3 separate regions of the Homo sapiens genome follow, and regions 2 and 3 are each linked to region 1. The links are contacts of gene promoters, found by promoter capture Hi-C in human tissues and cell types (Jung and others, 2019). All regions are on one chromosome and are shown on one strand. The core of a region is centred on a gene start or on the middle of the fragment in contact, and the rest is flanking DNA. Distances in the headings are between cores, read along the strand shown. Region 1 holds the start of NENF (neudesin neurotrophic factor). Region 2 overlaps LPGAT1 (lysophosphatidylglycerol acyltransferase 1). Region 3 has its middle 15 kb from the start of NEK2-DT.

The links. The method cuts DNA at HindIII sites, captures the fragments that hold promoters and counts their contacts. A contact is called where the count stands out against the background at its distance.
Region 2: a fragment that was not itself captured here is called in contact with the fragment with the promoter of NENF in region 1 in 1 of the 25 tissues and cell types used here (hippocampus).
Region 3: a fragment that was not itself captured here is called in contact with the fragment with the promoter of NENF in region 1 in 2 of the 25 tissues and cell types used here (lymphoblastoid cells and spleen).

The regions. Positions count from the first base shown.
Region 1 is chr1:212,431,581-212,435,287 of GRCh38, forward strand. It overlaps NENF (neudesin neurotrophic factor), which reads left to right and starts at 1,340. Exons shown (of 4, transcript NM_013349.5): 1 at 1,340-1,540. The coding sequence starts at 1,364. It overlaps LOC105372906 (a long non-coding RNA gene), which reads right to left and starts at 1,237. Exons shown (of 3, transcript XR_922577.4): 1 at 1,045-1,237; 2 at 161-264. RefSeq lists a silencer at 1,126-1,685 and an enhancer at 1,846-1,935. The HindIII fragment of the contact is 24,294 bases long and covers 19-3,707 here.
Region 2 is chr1:211,745,778-211,749,441 of GRCh38, forward strand. LPGAT1 (lysophosphatidylglycerol acyltransferase 1) reads right to left here. Exons shown (of 8, transcript NM_014873.3): 8 at 1-3,664. Among named protein-coding and RNA genes, the nearest start is that of NEK2-DT, 72 kb to the left of the region's middle. The HindIII fragment of the contact is 4,126 bases long and covers 119-3,664 here.
Region 3 is chr1:211,689,146-211,692,490 of GRCh38, forward strand. No RefSeq gene overlaps it. Among named protein-coding and RNA genes, the nearest start is that of NEK2-DT, 15 kb to the left of the region's middle. The HindIII fragment of the contact is 4,257 bases long and covers 1-3,345 here.

The sequences.
Region 1 (3,707 bases), core at 90-2,589:
AAGAACCTGCTCTTGGGTCTGGAATGAGACCCTTTTTCTGTTAATTCCTCTATTCCAGTCTTGAAAGTAAAAGCCAGTCTTGAAAATAACCTGTGAAGCCCCCAAGATCCACCCCCACTCCCTTACCCGCTTCCTTCCTGACTTCACCTACCCCTCTTACCTTCCCTTGATCCTCCAGCAAGCCGGGCATCCTCATTCCTCCGCATTTATGCACCTGATCCTTTGACCAAAGTGCTCTTCCCTCTAGACCGCCTCCTTCGCCTCCTGTAGATTTTTATGCAAATACCCTGTTCTCAGTGAGGCCTTCCCTAACCTGCCTATTTAAAATGACCATCCCCATAACCGGGCACCGTTCCTCACACCTGTAATCCCAGCACTTTGGGTGGATGAGGTGGATGGTTCACTTGAGGCCAGGAGTTCGAGACCAGCCTGGCCAGCATATAGTGAAACCTCATCTCGACTAAAAATTAAAAAAAAAAAAAATTAGCCAGGCGTGGTGGTGGGTGCCTGTAATCCCAACTACTCTGGTGGCTGAGGCAGGAGAATCACTTGAACCCGGAAGGTGGAGGTTGCAGTGGGCCGAGATGGCGCCACTGCACTCCAGCGTAGGCGACAGACTCCGTCTCAAAAATAAATAAATACATAACAATAAAATAAAATAAAATGTCCATCCCAGTGCTCCCTATCTCTTTGCCCTACTTTTTCTCCCTAGTATTTACCACCATCTAACATACTACTTAGCATCTTATTGTCTATCTGCCCACACAATGTAAGCTTCACGTGGGCGTGGATCTGTCTTGTTCAGTGGTGAGTCCCCAGTGACCTGGTACATGGAGGTACTCAAAAATATTTGTTGCATAAAGTAATGAGCAAAGTTTGGCACAAATGTTAGCTATTATTATTTCAGGGCGTATCGGTAACAGCACCCTACCCTTTGCAAAAATCTCCTTGGGAACCAGAAACTTAAACACAACCAGGAAGAAAAAAAATCAGCCAAAAATAAAAGCGAATTAAGACAGTTGGGGTCTTATTTTAGAAATATACCTTTCTAGGTTCTGGTATGTTGGGCTCTGTCATCTTTCTACCTGATCAAGGAACCACTGTGACATTTTTTGGTAACTTCCAGTCTGTAGTTTGGATTTAGGAGTTCAGGATTCCAATCCTAATTTCCAGGTTCCAGCTGCGTGGCCCGAGTAGCCCGGCCAGCCCCACCCCGGGGCGCAGGAGGCGCGCGAAGGGCGGGAGTTCTCGGGTCCCCGCCCTCGGGGAGGCTCTGGGCGCGGGGCGGGACTCCGGGACGCTGGGCGGGCGTGCTAGGGCCCCGCCGCCCTGGCCCGGCCTTGCCTTGCGCTGCGCGCTCACCATGGTGGGCCCCGCGCCGCGGCGGCGGCTGCGGCCGCTGGCAGCGCTGGCCCTGGTCCTGGCGCTGGCCCCGGGGCTGCCCACAGCCCGGGCCGGGCAGACACCGCGCCCTGCCGAGCGGGGGCCCCCAGTGCGGCTTTTCACCGAGGAGGAGCTGGCCCGCTATGGCGGGGAGGAGGTAGGCGGGGGTGTCGCGGGCCGAGGGACCCGGGGTGGCGTCCGATCTGCGGCGAGCCGAGCGGGGACCCAGGAGGCGCCGGCGGCCCAGGAAGCTCTGGGGGACGCGCGGCCCGCGGCGGGCGCCCTGGGCCGGCGGGGGGCCTCCTCTCTCTAGGCCCCGAAGGATGGCCGAGGGGTGAGGACGAGTCCTCAACAGTCGGAGCGCTCCGCTTTGCCCGCACACCCCACCCTGAACTTCTCCCTCGGTCCCCGGGAGATTTCCCCTCTAGCCGCCTTTTCGTTGATGATCTGCGTACAGACCTCAGAACTTTTTGGTTTTCATGTTAGCATCAGCCGAGGCGTTTACTGTGCCCACGCATAGTGGGGAGTGGCGGGGGACGGAGGGAGGGAAGCAGAGCCTGCTCCCTGGGTTAGGTGGGAATTGAGACAGGTCCTGGGATAAGCCAGTCTTTGCCTGCACTTCCTTTTCCTGCCCCTGTATCCCAGGCCTCTGCATCGGACTCCTCAAACCCACTTTTAGGTCATGTACCCCTGGGGCTCAGCCAAAGCTGGAAGTGAGCGCAGAGGGTGGACTGGAGGTTAGAGACCCCCACAACCCCCCCGCCACACGTCAATAGAGACCCCCCCGCCCACACACACCCACACACGTCAATAGTCTAGAGGCGTCCAGAAAACTCACAACCACCTGCCCACCTGGGTTGGTTGGGACTGGAGCCGCACGACAAGGACCAACAGGGGGCTGATATTAGATGTGGAGCGGGGGAACGGCATTGGGGGGAGGTCATAGTACCATAGTATTTCAGAGCTGGCAGGAACCCATCTCCTGCTTTTACACATAAGGAAACTGAGGCCTGCCACCTGTTAGTGGTAGAGCAGGAAGAGGCCTGATGTTTTTCAAAACCCTCTGGCCTGGTCTCGCTAATTCCTGAGTTAATTGGCCTTATATGGACTAGGATTGCATGGGGGTATCAGAAACCTGGCCCTTAGTCAGTGATGCCAGTTTGGGCATCATTTGTGAAGGGGCCATTTAGAACCATGAGTCAGTGAGGACACCGAGGGAGGGAGACATGGCTGGGATGTGAGGATGTTAAGGGATGCCTTTTTGCCGGTAGCAGAGGGAACCAGATGGTTCAGAGTCCAGGCATCCGTGCAGAAAAGAATTAACATGGCAGGCCTGCTCTCCTTAGAAAAGCCTACTTGCAAGGGTGGGACTTGTCTAGTGTCTGGATTTCTCACCCTTCCCTACCCAATAACGGTGGACTCACTTGCCTAGGCCGTATATACAGATGGTGTGGTTAGTATTGAACACTGTATATGCTAGGCAGAGGGTGCCCCATGTGACCAGCCCCCAGTGAAAACCTTGGGTGCTGAGTCTAATGGGCATCTCTAGCAGAGGAATGTTCTGCCAGAAGAATGGCACATACTGTCAAGTTTTGTTGCTGGGGGAAGAGTGTGCTCTTCCTCATGGGAGGGAGAGAGCATAGGAAACCTGCACATAGATTCCCCTAGATTCTCCCTCTGTGTTTTTCCTTCCCAGCTGTGAGTAGAACTATATGCTGGGTTCTTGGAATCTTCCTTCTAGGGACTCTCCAACTGACCCGATGATCTTTGGGACCACTGGCACAAGAATCTAAGGAAAGAGAGAGTTCACCACTGAGGTTACAGCAAGAGTGCCAGAACTGCAAGATGAGGACTGAGAAAAGACCCTTGGTTTTTTGATGTTGATGTTATAGATTGAAATTTAACTGAGAGAGAGAGGACCTTGAGATGGAAACAGGGGTAGGAAACAATTGTTTTGGGAGTGGAGCCTGAGGATCTCTGTAGGTGGAAGGAAGGAGCCAGAGAGAGGAGGGGAGCGAGGGACGAGAGAGGCAGTTGAGTGCAGTGGGTTCAAGCTGTGCTGCGCTGTTGTTTGACCTAGATTGTTCTGGTCTATGCCTGTTATCCAGGGATAATTATTAATAACACCCTTTCACTCAGAAGTGTGACAATTTGTATAATACATTGGATCATACCTGGTTTTGAGTCCCTGTTCTGCTGTGTGATTTGGGGCAAATTACTAAACCTCTCTGAGTCTCCACTTTGTTCGTAAGATACTTGGATTAGTCCAGGTTTCACCAGGGAACAGAACCATTTGGATATCTATATCTATACAGTTGATCCTT
Region 2 (3,664 bases), core at 932-3,431, 680 kb before region 1:
CTCTAACTTAGATGGTTTTGGTCCCAAACATATTAGTCTCTACCCTTCCTGCTATCCACTGCTGCTTTTGACTTTGTCCTTCATATTAACAGATATAAGGCTCATAGCACTGCAGAGCAAAAAAACATAACAAACCATTTTTATCCATCCTCTGTGGACCAGAGCTGAACACACTCATAATGGTAACTCTGGAGTGAAGTCCTGTGTAATGACTTCAAAAAAAGAACAAAGAAAACAATTAACTCTTCCTACTCAGTAGTGCAAATAAAACATTTTCTTTTCAAATATAAAAATAATCCAAGAAGACTATCCATGATTAAAGGCTACTCTCTATGATTAACCAGGTCCAACTAGTTCAGAAGAGTCTTTAAGGAAGTGATTGTCAAAAAACACTCAGACAAATCCACAAGAAGTGGGCAACATGAGCAAAGAATGAAGACGCTTCTTAACATGAATCCAAGACAGCAACACTAGAATAATGTTCCCAGGTTTACATTTGGTGATTTCAGATTTCATTTTCATAAAAAGGCTTGAGAACAATGCCAATACTGCCAATTTTTGATTATTCAGGGATGCTTTTCTAACCCATAGATTATTCAGGCTTCTGTATTTCCTCTTCCTGATAGCTGTCTTTCCGCATCATTTCACTACTCATTAACACAGTCATAAATATATAGGCAAAAAACCCCTAAGAAACAACTTAAATCATTTAATTAGTAAGCGTCCCTAGAAAAAAAATGTCTGATGAGAGTAAGAATTCAAACTCCTAAATAAAAGTAATTTTTGATTTACCTATCATTTATTACCAGATTATCTATCCAGAAAGTAATCAATCTAGTAATCCTTCCTTTATAGTGGAAAGTTAAGGATTGGTTGTAATATTAAAGACCAATAAGATAGATCTGAACTCATAGCTATCTTCTTTTTTAATATACTTTTGGAATTCTCAGTGAATTTGTTTGCTTGCCCAAAATATTATTTTCCATTCTGTAATTTTTCTTTACCTTCCATTACTTACAGGTTTCTCTGCAATTTAAGTACAGTTCACCACCAATAATTGTTTCTGAAGTTAAGGGTGACCTGCTGGCTTGGTCACTTTTGCAGTGACTGGACCTGCCTGTGGCCAAGCACATGTTCCATCACTGTAACTCATCAATACCAAGATTCCAGCAATGGATTCTCAACCTTGTCTGCTGTGGGAATCTAGGCAGTCTAGCCAAGACCAAGAAGAGCTGAGCTTCTACAAGCTATTGATATAAAACTGGCATAGTTTTATCTTCTTTCCTCTTGACAAAATATATATACTTTAAACGTCCTTTCATCTCCCTTCACAAAGTACAAATTAGGAACTTTTCTTCAGTTTTGTACAGTGGCATATTGCTGCTTCCCCAGATTGCCATATAAGAATACTGATTCTCTCTTTACCTTCTCTAGTGCAAGCAGGAGAACTCCAGTTACTGATAAGGAAAGCACTACCAATGCTTTCAAACATATTTTGCAAACAGAAGAGAGAGAACATGTTAAAGAATCAAAGAAGGATAGGGCAGATCAAATACACATCTATTTACAACTCACGGAGATATTTAAAAAAATTAACTCACATATCTATTGGCATTTGTCACCCTGGAGACTGTGAAAATGACACCGTACTTGAAAAGTAAAGCATCTTATAGAATAGTTTAATGTGTACAGTATATTTAACAATATCATGTTCCTTTGGAGCACAGTGATGGCAAAAGTGGCCCTCAGCCACATTTATGTATGCATGTTCGCATTTATTTTTGGATAGGAGAACTGGTCACTCTACCCTGTGGCTTGCTGTAGCAATGAGGAAAAGGTCTATCAGCTAGGACCGTGCATGCTGTATTTGACAGTGAGCAACTTCTCCCCCAGATGGTTGACTAATCCCTCAAGTGAACAATTTCATTTCATCCAGTAATTTAGTGGTGCTTGCTGGGCCTCAAACAGAAGCATCATTAAGCTTCTATTGGGCTTTCTGTCATCATCCATACCTCTAAATTGAGATTGGTTTCATTTATTCACCGACACTGTAGAACACATAATGAAATGCTTAGATTTAAAAAAAAATTGCATTTTATAACAACCAGTCCCCAAACCAAACACATTAACACTGTCTTCTGCATTTTACCAGTAGTAGTATAATATTCAATGAGGTATTTCAGTTAATGCATCATTCTCTTTCACATATGCACTGAGTTATCGTAAAGATGAAGCTGCTGTGGGCTTTTATTTGGTGTTGCTTTACCTTTCCCACATAACTGGGGAAAATTCACATCTTTTCTGTTTTTTTTTGGTTTATTTAAAAATAGAAAACAGCAACCTTTTTTTGTTTTATAGCCTACTTCTCAAAATTGTTGTGTGATTAGTGACAACGGGGGAATCTACAATGCTCACATCACAGTAAACTACCACTGACTTACTAGGATCTTAATAGTCTTACAATCCCAAACAAAAACCCTACTCATCTCACTGATGCAGTACCAGCACTTTTGGAGAAGGGTGTGGTTCTCTTATGAGGTAAATTGTACAAACATCGCAACAAATTTCTAAAAAATGTTTTCTAGAAATAGAAACTTGACTTTACCCTCTTCAAAAGCAACTGGAGGCCGGGCGTGGTGGCTCACGCCTGCAATCCCAGCACTTTAGGAAGCCGAGGTGGGCAGATCACCTGAGGTCAGGAGTTCGAGGCCAGCCTGGCCAACATGGTGAAACCCCATCTCTACTAAAAATACAAAAATTAGCCAAGCATGATGGTGGGTGCCTGTAGTCCCAGCTACTCGGGAGGCTGAGGCAGGAGAATCGCTCGAACCCGGGAGGCAGAGACTGCAGTGAGCTGAGATTATGCCACTGCACTACAGCCTGGGTGACAGAGTAAGACCTGTCTAAAAAAAAAAGAAAAAAGAAAAAGCAACTGGAAGAGATTGGGGGGAGCCTTATGTGCTGGTATCGTTCCTAATTACACTCACCCTGACAGGGGCAGCTCCTTGATGTAATGATTCAACAGACTACTGTCTGCACAGGTCCTAGGGGTGCCACATGAGAACCTGTCACCATTATAAGCCACTAGCTCTTATTTTTCTATAAACTAGCCTATTTCCCCTTAAACTGATCATTTAAATGTTCTATAGTAATTTGTTTTAACCATCCCCAAATGCATTTAGTGCCAATGTCAAAATGGAAAAAATAAAGCCTCTGAGCTGCAATAGAGGCATCACGTCAGGGTGGTGTCCAGGGCAGGATGGCGCTGGAGAGCACTGGCAGGCAAATAAACACACAGAGACAAGACAGTTCTCGAGAACCTCACACACTGCTATGCTCCCATTTGTTTTCAGGCTATATTACTAATCCTTTGCTATATCTGCATCTCAAAAAAGTGCATTTTGCAAAATTATCAATTTATGATATGCCTCTGATACAAAATGAGAAGTCAGATAAGGAAAAGCACGAGTGTATGTAAACACAGTGTTGGACTGAGCTAGCCTTTGTAAAGAACACATCCAGTACCAGAAGGGGTCCAGTGGACACTGCTTTTCCCCCACAGAGAATGTCAATATTCTAGAGTTTGTTACTGCAACAGACTGGAGTTTGTTACTGCAACAGACTGGAGTTTGTTACTGCAAACGACAGGGAAAGAGTTCTTCAC
Region 3 (3,345 bases), core at 344-2,843, 740 kb before region 1:
AATAAGTCAGAAAGTTGAGGCATGTCGAAGAATTGTCTGCAAAAGTCATGAAAGAGAAAAATGTTATAAAAAAGAATTTATGCAAATAATGTTGTATAATTTAAAAGTAACTAGGCCTCCTGAATGTAAAACTATTTTAAAAAAACAGTTTATGTGCAAGGTGTATCAGAAAAGTAAAATATACCTTTAGTAAAAGGATTATAAGGAGGCATAAGAATGCACATTTTTACCTACATTAAAAAGTTTTTAAAAAATTATTGTTTTGAAGATTTAAGCAAGTTTTAAAACGTTAATTGTAAAGAAAATTCTGTGTGTAAACATATTAGCTAAAGTTAAAGAAGTATCATCCAGTTTTTCTGTGAACTGGACATTAAAGTAAAAGCATAACAGGTTTTTCTTAAAGCACCAACCTGCTCTTTCACAAAAATTATAAAAGGTTAAAAAGAGTCTATAAAATCTTACCTTATGGTCAAACATTAAAAATTAGATAAATATGTCTACAAGGTTTTATTAAAATTAGGTTTAACATTACTAACACACTAATATAAAGATAAAATTTAGCTTATCTGGTATAAAAATCATATGAGAAGCATTGTTAAATGTAAAATGGTATTTGGCTTTCTTTGTTTTAAAAACTAATAAAAATAGATGCTAAAGGAAATTTCTCAGTTAAAAGGCACTAAGGACTATAAAGTCCACTGCCAAGGTCCCCACATATAAAACAAAAGGTCAGTTTCTTAAAAATTATATACTTGGTTTATCTTCCACTTTCCTTTCTCTCAAAAACTAAAAGTCTTTTAGCACATGTACCACCCCTAGAATTTCTGGTAAACCAGCACCAGCCTGAAGATCACGTTCTCATCAAACGGTGGAAAGAAGAAAAACTCGAGCCAACCTAGGAAGGACCCCACCTTGTGCTGCTAACCACCAAGACTGCTGTTTGTACAGAAAAAAAAAAAAAAAAAAAAAAAAAGGATGGACTCATCACACCCGAGTCAAGAAAGTGCCACCTCCTCCAGAGTCATGGGCCATAGTCCCAGGGGAAAACCCTACCAAACAAAAGCTAAGAAAAATTTAACTCTTTTCCTCTATTCTATTACTCTTTCTTCTTTCCTCGTTCTATTGCTGACCATCTAGTTATTAACATAACCAAGTCAATTTCGCCTCAAACTATTGCATTTAATGCTTGCCTTGTTATACCCTGTGGGGACTTGCCAAGTCAAAGACAGCTTTCTTCTTCAGAAAAGTACTTCTGTCCCTCCTGACTCTCCTCAGACTGGGAATTAGTAAACTGAACCATTTAATCCCGGGAGATTTCGATAAAGACCCCAGTGCCAACCAGGAGTCTTGCCCCCTGATGTGCAGCTTGCATGTCATAGTTGGACCAACGTTCTGTGGACCACTACAGAACAAGGATGGACTGCCCCAACCGGTTTTTGTAATTTCCTAAAACCATACATTCATTTTACTAGAGGATCATAGCAGTTAAAGACTTAAAACAAACTTTAGCAATTAAGACGGGATACCAAGATGCAACTGCCTGGTTAAAATGGATCAAATATTCCATCTGCATGTTAAACAAAAGCAATTGTTATGCTTGCGCACATGGCAGGCCAGAGACCCAGACTGTCCCCTTTCCACTAAGGTGGTCCTCCGTCGACCAGGTGTGGGCTGCATGGTAGCTCTTTTCCAGGATTCTACAGCATGGAATAATAAGTCATGCCAAGCTCTCTCTGCTATATCCCAAAGTCAGGCACCCTGCAGGTCAGCCCCCAAGGGCCATCCAGCTTCCGTCCCCCAACACTAAGTTCACTTCGTGTTTCTCACGACAGGGAGGAAACAGCATTCCTTGGAGACCTAAAGGGATGCAGTGAGCTTAAGAATTTTCAAGAGCTTATCAATCAGTCAGCCCTTGTTCATCCCCGAGTGGATGTGTGGTGGTATTGTGGTGGACCTTTACTGGGCACTCTGCCGAATAACTGGAGGGGCACTTGTACTTTAGTCCAGTTGACTATCCCTTTCACCCTGGCATTTCATCAACCAGAAGGAAAAAAAATAAGACATCATAAAGTGAGAGAAGCCTCCTATGGGTCTTTCGACTCTCATATCTATTTAGACACAATTGGAGTCTCACGAGGAACAGCAGATCAATTTAAAGCTTGAAATCAAATAGCTGCAGGATTTGAGTCAATATTTTAGTAGGTGACAGTTAATAAAAATGTAGATTATATAAACTACATCTATTACAACCAACAGCAATGAGCTTTTCATGAGTTAAAAAAAACTCATGTCAGCCCCAGCCCTGGGGCTACCTGACCTGACAAAACTCTTTGAACTCTATGTGTCAGAGAAAAAATGGCAGTTGGAGTTTTAACCCAGACTATGGGGCCCTGGCCAAGGCCAGTGGCCTATCTCTCAAAACAACTAGACAGGGTTTCCAGAGTCCAGCCCCCAGATCTAAGGGCCTTAGCAGCAACAGCCCTGTTAGCACAAGAAGCAGATAAACTAACCCTTAGGCAAAACCTGAATATAAAGGCCCCCTTGCTGTGGTAACTTTAATGACTACCAAAGGACATCATTGGTTAACAAATACTAGATTAACCAAGTATCAAAGCTTAAAATCCCCACATAACCATTGAAGTTTGCAACACCCTAAATCCCACCACCTTGCTCCCGGTATCAGAGAGCCCAGTTGAACATAACTGTGTAGAAGCGTTAGACTCAGTTAGACTCTAGCAGGACCAACCTCTGAGACCATCCTTAAACATCAGTAGACTGTGAGCGGTACGTGGACGGGAGCAGCTTCGCCAACCCCTGCAAAGTGACTCTGAAGAAGATGACAAGCCCTGCTCCAGTCACACCCGGAAGCTGACTGGTCCACGCACGGCCGAAGCATGAGAAAACTCATCACGGGACTCATTTTCCTTAAAATTTGGACTTTTACAGTAAGGACTTCAACTGACCTTCCTCAGGCTGAGGGCTGTTCCCAGTGTATGCATCAAGTCACTGAGGTAGGACAAAAGGTTGCTACGGTCCTATTATTTTATGGTTATTATAAGTGTACTGGAACTCTAAAAAGAACTTGTTGGTATAATGTTATTCTATACAAGGTATGTAGCCCAGGAAATGACAAACCTGATGTGTGTTATGACCCATCTGAGTCTCCCATGACCACAGTTTTTAAAATAAGATTAAAGACTGAGGACTGGTGGGGGCTTATAAACAATACGAGCAACGTGTTAGCCAAAACAGAAGAAAAAGGGGTGCCCAAAGAAGTCACCTTAAAATTTGATGCCTGTGCTGTCTTTAATAGTAATGTTAGAAATAAGGTGTGGTTCTCTTAAT